Linked DNA regions of Homo sapiens: region 1 is linked to region 2. The links are contacts of gene promoters, found by promoter capture Hi-C in human tissues and cell types (Jung and others, 2019). All regions are on one chromosome and are shown on one strand. The core of a region is centred on a gene start or on the middle of the fragment in contact, and the rest is flanking DNA. Distances in the headings are between cores, read along the strand shown.

The links. Contacts are between HindIII fragments. The study calls those that stand out against the background at their distance.
Region 1: a contact is called between a fragment that was not itself captured here and the fragment with the promoter of SDK2 in region 2, in 2 of the 25 tissues and cell types used here (hippocampus and thymus).

Annotation. Positions count from the first base shown.
Region 1 is chr17:73,239,033-73,243,309 of GRCh38, forward strand. It overlaps MTNAP1 (mitochondrial nucleoid associated protein 1), which reads left to right. Exons shown (of 6, transcript NM_001351264.2): 4 at 3,212-3,319; 5 at 3,864-3,971. It also overlaps a transcript of CPSF4L not described here. Among named protein-coding and RNA genes, the nearest start is that of MTNAP1, 8.7 kb to the left of the region's middle. The HindIII fragment of the contact is 5,599 bases long and covers 1-4,102 here.
Region 2 is chr17:73,642,605-73,646,875 of GRCh38, forward strand. SDK2 (sidekick cell adhesion molecule 2) reads right to left here and starts at 1,841. Exons shown (of 45, transcript NM_001144952.2): 1 at 1,421-1,841. The coding sequence starts at 1,484. It overlaps LOC124904054 (a long non-coding RNA gene), which reads left to right and starts at 2,870. Exons shown (of 2, transcript XR_007065893.1): 1 at 2,870-3,090; 2 at 3,217-3,500. The HindIII fragment of the contact is 11,047 bases long and covers 1-4,271 here.

The sequences.
Region 1 (4,277 bases), core at 53-2,552, 400 kb before region 2:
GTTCAAGCGATTCTCCTGCCTCAGCCTCCCAAGTAGCTGGGATACAGGTATGCGCCACCACGCCCGGCTAATTTTGTATTTTTAGTAGAGATGGGGTTTCTCCGTGTTGGTCAGGCTGGTCTTGAACTCGTGACCTCAGGTGATCTGCCCGCCTCAACCTCCCAAAGTGCTGGGATTACAGGTGTGAACCACCGTGTCCAGCCTTCTGTGTTTTTCAGTTGCAGATGCACACACTCCCCCCATGATAAATCTCTCTACCAAATTGAAGGACTTGTGTATTTTCTGTACTACATTTTATAGTGCTTAGGAGTGTCCTTGATACACACTTTTCATTTTAGAGGAAAAAGTGAGGGACCTGACGTTTATCTGTGATGACTATGACTATCGTTATGCTAGATACATTATGTCATTTAATCCTCATAACAGCTCTGAGTGACACCACTGTCCCACCCTCTTATTCCTCTTGAGGAATCTGAGCTTCAGACATCTTTTTTTTTTTTTCTTGAGACAGAGTCTTGCTCTGTCTCCCAGGCTGGAGTGCAATGGCACAATCACGGCTCACTGCAACCTCCACCTCCCAGGTTCAAGCGATTCTCCTGCTTCAGGCTCCAGAGTAGCTGGGATTACAGGTGCCTGCCACCACGCCCAGCTAATTTTTTTTTTTTTTAAGTAGAGATGGGGTTTTGCCATGTTGGCCAGGCTGGTCTCGAACTCCTGACCTCAGGTGATCCTCCCGCCTTGGCCTCCCAAAGTGCTGGGATTACAGGTGTGAGCCACCAGGCCTGGCCTGAGCTTCAGACATTAAGTGACTTCCCTATGTTCATGCAGTAAGTGACAGAATCAGGATTCAAACCCAGGTTCGTCTGACTCTACTAACTATTCCAAACAGTGAACCTCAAGTTGAGTTTAAAGACCACAGATAGAAGAGTCAGGTGAACCTGGAGGTATTAACTACTAACTCTCCCAAACAGTAAGCCTCAAGTAGAGTTTAAAGACCACAGATAGAAGTCAATACCTTGTTTGATATGTTATTGATACATTTCACTGTTAGCTCCTAAGAATACAATAATAAGATACAGTAACTTAAAACATTAAATTACCAAGGTTATGAGACAGGATATAGGAGGGAAAATAGAATTTTTTCTTCAGTAACAAGTTCCTTCCAAATAGTGGTGAGAAACTATTTTAATCCCTTTTATTGCTCATAGTCTGTAACTAATAAATGTTGTACTTAGTTTGGGACTTCTACATCAAGACAGTAAATAAGGTGTAATCATCATAGGGCCTCTACTTCTATTATAAACTGAAAAACTATTGAAGTTGGATCCAGGATCAGTGTTCAGACTTTGATGTTACCACCAAATGAACACAAGATACTAGAGGAGAGAGACCCTAGGATCAGGTCAAGCCCTGATCCCTCCATTGGCCAAGGACTTCAAGGCCATATCAATCTATAGGGATTAAAAGATGGTGCCATTGGCTCCTTAAAAAGCTTTGTAATTTCACCAGGCAATGACTGTCTCCAATGACTGCAAATTAGAGTTTTATTGGAATCTTTGCACAAGAGAATGGGCTATACCTTTTCTCACTCAGGCAAGACCTTTGATAGGTCATTTGCCCTTCTCAGGAAGCCAACTCATTCCTTTGGTACTTAAAAGGCAGGGCCAGTGAGCTAACAGTTACTGAATTAACTGCAGGTCAGGACAGTAGGCTCACCTGACTGGAGAAAGCAGGGCAAGGTCAGGGAGCCACGTGATCCTGACACTGCTGACAACATGGTTGCAATTTTCAGGAAGTTGTCTCTTTACACCGTTTTCCTCAAATTTTTTCCAAGATGAATGGGTTTTTTTTTTAAGAGACTAACCTTCACCTTGCAAGAGAATTATCTTCTGTGCAATTTCTTGGAAGCCAGCATGATTCTTTTCATTGTTCTTTAATGATCATTTGGATATTTTTACATCCACAGCAACTTTTACCACACTTGCTAAACCTGTTGTCGGTGTTTAATTTCTTCTTTATCTTGATGAACCAAACCAAGACTAGAGAACTATCAGTAGTAGAGATTACCTGTCATAAAACATGGAGAAAACCATGTACAGGAGAAATGTGATTAAGGAGCATAAGCCCTCTTTTTTTTGTTTTTGAGGCAGAGTCTTGCTCTGTTGCCCAGGCTGGAGTGCAGTGTAGCGATCTCTGCTCACTGCAAGCTCCGCCTCCTGGGTTCACGCCATTCTCCTGCCTCAGTCTCCCGTGTAGCTGGGACTACAAGCGCCCGCCACCACGCCCGGCTAATTTTTTCTGTTTTTTAGTAGAGACGGGGTTTTACAGTGTTAGCCAGGATGGTCTCAATCTCCTGACGTCGTGATCCACCCACCTCAGCCTCCCAAAGTGCTGGGATTACAGGCGTGAGCCACCGCGCCCGGCCTGCATAAGCCCTCTTTTCTGGTTCTGCTTAAGTTATTCATGCACTGAACATAAATAGGAAATGTTTGCTGGCCAATAATAGCGATAGGGTGATAGAACAGGCATGTTGACTGTGGGCAAGTCACAATCATAAAAGGAGAAAGTCACGCTTTTAGCTGACATGTTTAGCAGATGATAGAATATGTAAAAGAGGCCAGGCGCAGTGGTTCATGCCTATAATCCCAGCAGTTTGGGAGGCTGGGGCGGGCAGAACACATGAGGTCAGGAGTTCAAGACCAGCCTGGCCAAAGTGGCGAAACCCCGTCTCTACTAAATAACAAAAATTAGCCTGGCGTGATGGCGTGTGCCTGTAATCCCAGCTACTCGGGAGGCTGAGGCAGGAGAATCACTCGAACCCAGGAGGTAGAGGTTGCAGTGAGCCAAGATCATGCCACTGCACTCCAGCCTGGGCGAGAGAGTGAGACTGTGTCAAAAACAAAAAGATGATGTAAGAGACTCACTTCATGAAGCACATGCGCATCAATCACCTGGCCAGGGTACTCAGCAGACCAAAAAACAAGTAGACGCCCTGATTTTCAGGGGTCCCTTGGCCTTTTGAAAAACATTTTTTCAACCTGTAATTGATTTGACTTTCAACACTTAGCTGCAGTCCAATGCAGAAATCTTTAATGCACCTGTTTAGAATATGCTCTTCCTGAGGCTTAGCCGTGGATCCTTCGGCACTGGATGTTAGGGAAGGGGGTACGTTTCGGTAAACAATGACAGTGACTTCTGTTTGGAACCATAGTTTCTTTGTTGGAACGAAGCTCAACTCATATAAGGAGTTTGGAACCCCCTGCCGGACTTACAACCTCCAACTTCTCTCTAATGAGGCTCTTGGGAGCTGTACAAAAAGGTGAGGCTGGAGTTTGACTGTTGTCTTCTGTTGCAGGTTCTGGGCATTTGGAAAAGTTTCTCTTCGGGCTGTTAAGCAAGGCTAAAGAGGAGAGGAAAAAAATGTTAAAATGTGTGTTGTCTTCCTAGTTTTCCATTTGTCTGTGTTCATTTTGGAGTTGGACATAATTGAAAGCACCAAAGCTAATAACAGCTACCATTTATTCAACAGCTTGTATTTTTTAATACCTACCCCCAACTTTCCCTTGCCCACATTGATTGTGCCTCCTCCCAAAGCCAGAAAAACTCTAAACCTCAAGTTAACCAGTTGTATTAGCCTCCTCCCACTAAAGATTTTAACCAAGCACCCAAAACAAGAGTAACTAATTTGAATCTAGTCAAGTTAAGGTTCTTTGATGTTAGCCTTTATGTGTTTAAAATATGTGCGTGTAAATCTCTGAATTACAGTTCCATCACTCAGGCTAACTGGGAAAACTTGAATGACTCGCGGATACTGGCCCTAGTTTCAGTTGCTGTAACAACAAGCCGTGTTTCCTTTTGAACAGGCTGGATCAGGTGCAACACCACCATAAGGAAGAGTGGATTCGGTGGCATCACGATGCTCTTCACAGGATACTTCGTCCTGTGTTGTAGCTGGAGTTTCAGACGTCTGAGTAAGTCTTTCTATATTTCTAGCCTAAATAACAGGTCCCATTCCGTTATGTGGACCTCCAAGGGATTCTCTGAATTTTTTTTTTTTTTTTTTTTTTTTACAGCTTTACAGTATCTGGCATGCCCTGGTGAATGAGCTATTGCCTGGGGTTTCTGGGTTTTATTTTTTTGAGATACAGTTTTGCTCTTGTTGCCCAGGCTGGAGTGCAATGGCACGATCTCAGCTCACTGCAACCTCTGCCTCCTGGGTTCAAGTGATTCTCCTGCCTCAGCCTCTCGAGTAGCTGGGATTATAGGCATGCACCACC
Region 2 (4,271 bases), core at 591-3,090:
CCAGATCACAGAGTGGCCTTGGGCAAGTCATTTAATGCCATTTGGCCTCAGTTTCCCTATCTGTTAAATGGCTACTAGAATAAGATGACCTCTGAGGTCCTCGCTTGTTCAAAGATTTTATGATGATCATAAAAATAATAACTTTTATTACCCTACATTTATAGGGCTCGTTACAAAATTTCGAAGTGCTTTTATGTAAATTACCTCGTAAAATCCTCCCCTCAGCCCTGTGAGTGAGAGCTGATTATTTTCATCTCTTTGATCTTGGCTCTCTGGATTGCCTGGCGCACGAGGCGGCGTGGGGAGTGGGTTGCAGCCCCCACAGTCCGGACCCCTAGGGTGGGTCTGGCCCCCTCCTGAGCCTGCGAGAGTGAAGGCCTAGCCCTGCGAGTCCTGGAGCTCGGTCCAGGCTTCGTCTCCCTCCGCCCCCAGCAGGCGCCGCTCGGACACCGCTGACACCACTGTCTGGATCGGCGAACCCCAAAGTCGAGGAACCGCCGGTGCAGCCGCCCTTCACCTCGGGGACCTGCCCGGGGACCAGGGGGACGTCTGGGCATCCACCCTCAGGAAGCGGGCAGCGCAGATCACACCTCGGATCCTTCGTAGCACTCCCAAACCCAAAGCCACCAGCCCTTCTCCACCGCGAGGCTGCTCCCGGCAGCCACAGGTCACAGCAGCGAGCGGCTGCACAGACTATCGAGCGAACAGCGGAGGCTGGAGGCAGGGGCGGGGATGCTGGGTGTGGGTGGATGGGTAGGAGGGGAGGCCTCAGACCCTCCCTGTGCACCACCCCCCGGTGGGTCCGCGGCTGCACCCGCGACCTTGGCTCCAGGCCCGCGCAGCGAAGCACCCCCAGCCCCAGCGGCTGGCCGAGCAGCCAGGGGCGGGCTCCCGTACGTGGCCAAGCCGGGCAATTGCTCTCCCCGGGCGAGCAACCCGGCATCCAGCGCTCGCCCACCCCACTCCCTCGCCCCGGGGAGGCCATCGCCTGCCCGGCAGGGGCCCTGCCCTTCCCCGCAGACACCGAGCAGGGAACCAGGAGCTCGGTCTGGGAAGCTCAGCGTAGCCGAGCGTGGAGCCCGGCACGGAATGTCGCTCCCCTCCCAAGCCGGCGCAGGGCAGCCACAGCAGACGGGGGGAGGGGAGCGCCCCTCCCACTTCACCTTGGGCTCTTCTCTGCCTCCCCAGGTCGTCCCCACCTTCCCCCATTCGGAAGCCACAAGTCTCGGAGAGACTGCCCCACCCCCAAAAGAGCCCCAAAACTTGGGAGATGGGGTGTCTTGAAACTCCCTGGAGAGGGCTCTGCCACGGCTAAGCCGGGTGTCCAGGAGGTCACCGTGAGGCCGGCCAGCTCCCGCCGCCCCTCCCCCGCCCACTCTCCCAGCCCCCTCCCTGTCCCCACGTGGGGGTCCCTCCTTACCTTGGGCTCTGGCCGCGCGGATCTGATGCAGAGCTAGCAGTGTCCAGATCAAAAGCCCCCACATGGTGACCAGCCTGGAGAGGGGTCCTCGGGGTCTCCCTTCCCTCCGCCCTGTTTTATAATCCTGGTGGGGTCCGATACCCCGTGGCTTAGTCCCAGGAAACAGTCAGTCTACGCGGCTCCGTGCCCCGGGGTGTAATATGCCCGGGAGGGGCAGCGCTTGGCTACCCCAACCCTTCCTCCTCTTCTGTACTAGTCCGAGCCCGGCAGCGCGCCCGGAAGGCGAGGGGCGAGCAGGGAGAAAGAGGCCAGGCCGCCCTCTCGGACTAGGGCGCCTCTCTCCCTTAGCACCCCAACTCCGACTTCTCCCAAACAGGGCGGCCTCTGCGATCCGGCCGGGTCGCCGGCCGAGCTCCGGAATAAATGGACAACTTCAGGAAACTTCCTCCCGTGGCCACGTTGCCCGCCCCCTCCCCGCCCCCTGGTTGGGTTCTCCCGGCCGACGCAGTCACCGCCGTTCCAGGCGCCGGGCCCCCGGGACCCGGCCAGAGCCGAGCGCAGTGGCAGACGCGGGTGCGGGGGTTCTTTTAGGGGCGCCGGTTTCGGGGGACGCGGTGAGCATAGCGGTCCGAATCTCCCTGGAGCTGAAGTTTTCTTCTCTCTAACTTTGCAGGCAGCATCTGGCGGGGCCGAACCACCCCCTCTGGGCTCCACCGCCCTCGCGCCGAATCGGGAGACGCCGGGTCTCCTCCGGGGGCGCTGGGGCCGGGCGCGCCCTCGGCTCCGCGCCCAGCCGGCTAGCAAACTTTGCGGGTCCCGGAGCCGGGCGCGCAGCCCTGAGCGCCCATGTCCGCGCCAGCCGCGGGGCGGCGGGGGAGGGTGCTGGGCTTCGCGACGCGGGCTGTCGCCGGCGCCCGGGCGCAGAGCCTCCTGCCGGCCCGAGGATGGAGACCGGCGGCTCTGCCCTCCGCCGCGCCCCGGCCGGAGCTCTCGGGAAGACGCACGGAGAGCCCGGCGGGCAGCCCCGGCTCCGGGGACGCGGCGCCCCTTCGGACGCCCGGCGATCGCCGACCTCCCGGGCCGGAGGAGCAACGGCCGCCCCAGCGCCTCGGCCGCCGCTGCCGCTCGCCGAGCCCGCCGCCCTCCGCTTCCCGGGCTCGGCGTCCAGAGAGCCGCTCCTGCCTGCGCCGAGCCGGAGCTGCGGGGGCAGCGTGAGCCGGGGACGAGCGCGGCGGAGGCGGAGACGCGGAGAGGGGGGCCGAGCGCTACCCCGTGGCCGCGACTGGAGAGCAGCCTGCGCGCCGGGAGGGGCGGCGGCGGCGGCGGCGGCCCCGAGCCAGGCCCGGGAGCGAGCCCCGCAGAAATACAATCCGACTGCGCGGCCGCGGGCGCCCAGCGGCTCTGGGACCCGCAGGGGGGCAGCAGTGCCAACCTTCTGCCGCGCCGGGAGAGATGCGCGCGAGCCCCTCCGCTCTCTGCCCAGCCTTTCCTTCCAGCCTCGCTCGCGCCCCTGTCTCAAAGGCCTCATAGGACTCCCAGAGTCTCCTATAGTCGGGAGCCCCCAGCCCCCTTCCGGACATGGAGTGATTGGTGGGGAGGCGGCGGTTGGGAAAAGGGGGTCGGTCAACCGATTGATTCCAGTTTCCCCTTCCCAAGTCAGGCTCTCCAAGGTCTGGAAATGCTCAGGGCGGAGGGGGAGACATCGGGAGGCCTGGGACCTGCAGAAGCCTGAGAAAGTGAAGTTGGTGCCAAGGAGCGTGCGTTCTTTGTTTCTTCTTTTTTCCTTCGGAGCCCAGCTTGTAAAGAGTAGAAGAACCGGACATTGGTGGAGGAATTCAAACAAGAGAGCCCGGAGGCGTCCTCTGCTGTGGCCCAGAGCTAGCGCCTACTCCACGAAGCTCAGCTGGGGTTAACAGGCTTCTGTTAAAATTTCCCGGGCACTGGGAAAATTTCAGGTGCCTTCGCCTCGGTGGACTCCTTTCCCTGCTAACAAAATTATTAAAAATAAGATTTTGCAACTGCGTTGGCATAAGGAAAAGTATATTAATATTGCATATTAAAACATGTTCTTCAGCCTAAAGCTTTACTTATTTTTTTCTGATTTTAAAAGAAATCAAAACATTTTCATGGGCCCCAAAAGACTATGGTCCCTGGCACTGGGCCTGCGGTGCTTAATGCAGAAGTCTACCCTGCGTGTCTGATATTTCTTCTGGGAAATAAAGAGCTAGTGAGACCCTCCATCTTTTGCCACAGTGCTTCTCTCTACTCTCTCTCGTGGTCCTACTTAGTCTGGTCCCCCACGGCTGCCTAGTCTTTCTGGTCCTTGAAGTCTAGGACTGTCACTCACTGATTGCCAACTCTTTCCCAGGCGCACTCCCACCCCAAGGACACCCCTTGTGATTGCTGTGGAATAGGCATAGCCACCGCAAATATATCGTTACTTATATATTCTCCTTTCACCTGCTTTGGAAGAAGAACCGTAAGCATTTATTAAAAATGTCTGAGAAGCTGGCCTGCCTTGCCTACAGCGTTTCAATCACCTAATTCAAACAACATTTCCCCCTGGCAACCTGCTCCATCCCCAGCTGAAGCCCCTCTGGCTGGCTGATTTGTAAATGCGAGGGCTTTGGGGGCAGGCAGCCTAGATGTGACCAACTCTCCTTCTCCTTGGTGGCCATGTCACTCCCACCTGCTTAATGATGCCCAGATGTGACAGTGCACACCCCCTACATACTCTGAATGTCCCCAGCTGTGAGCTCAGGCCCTTCCCAGACTGTCAGGAAGAGCTCTGGTCTTTAGGGTGCTGTTACTCTGTTCGCTCACAGAGGGGGCCTGAGAGCCGTATTTGCGG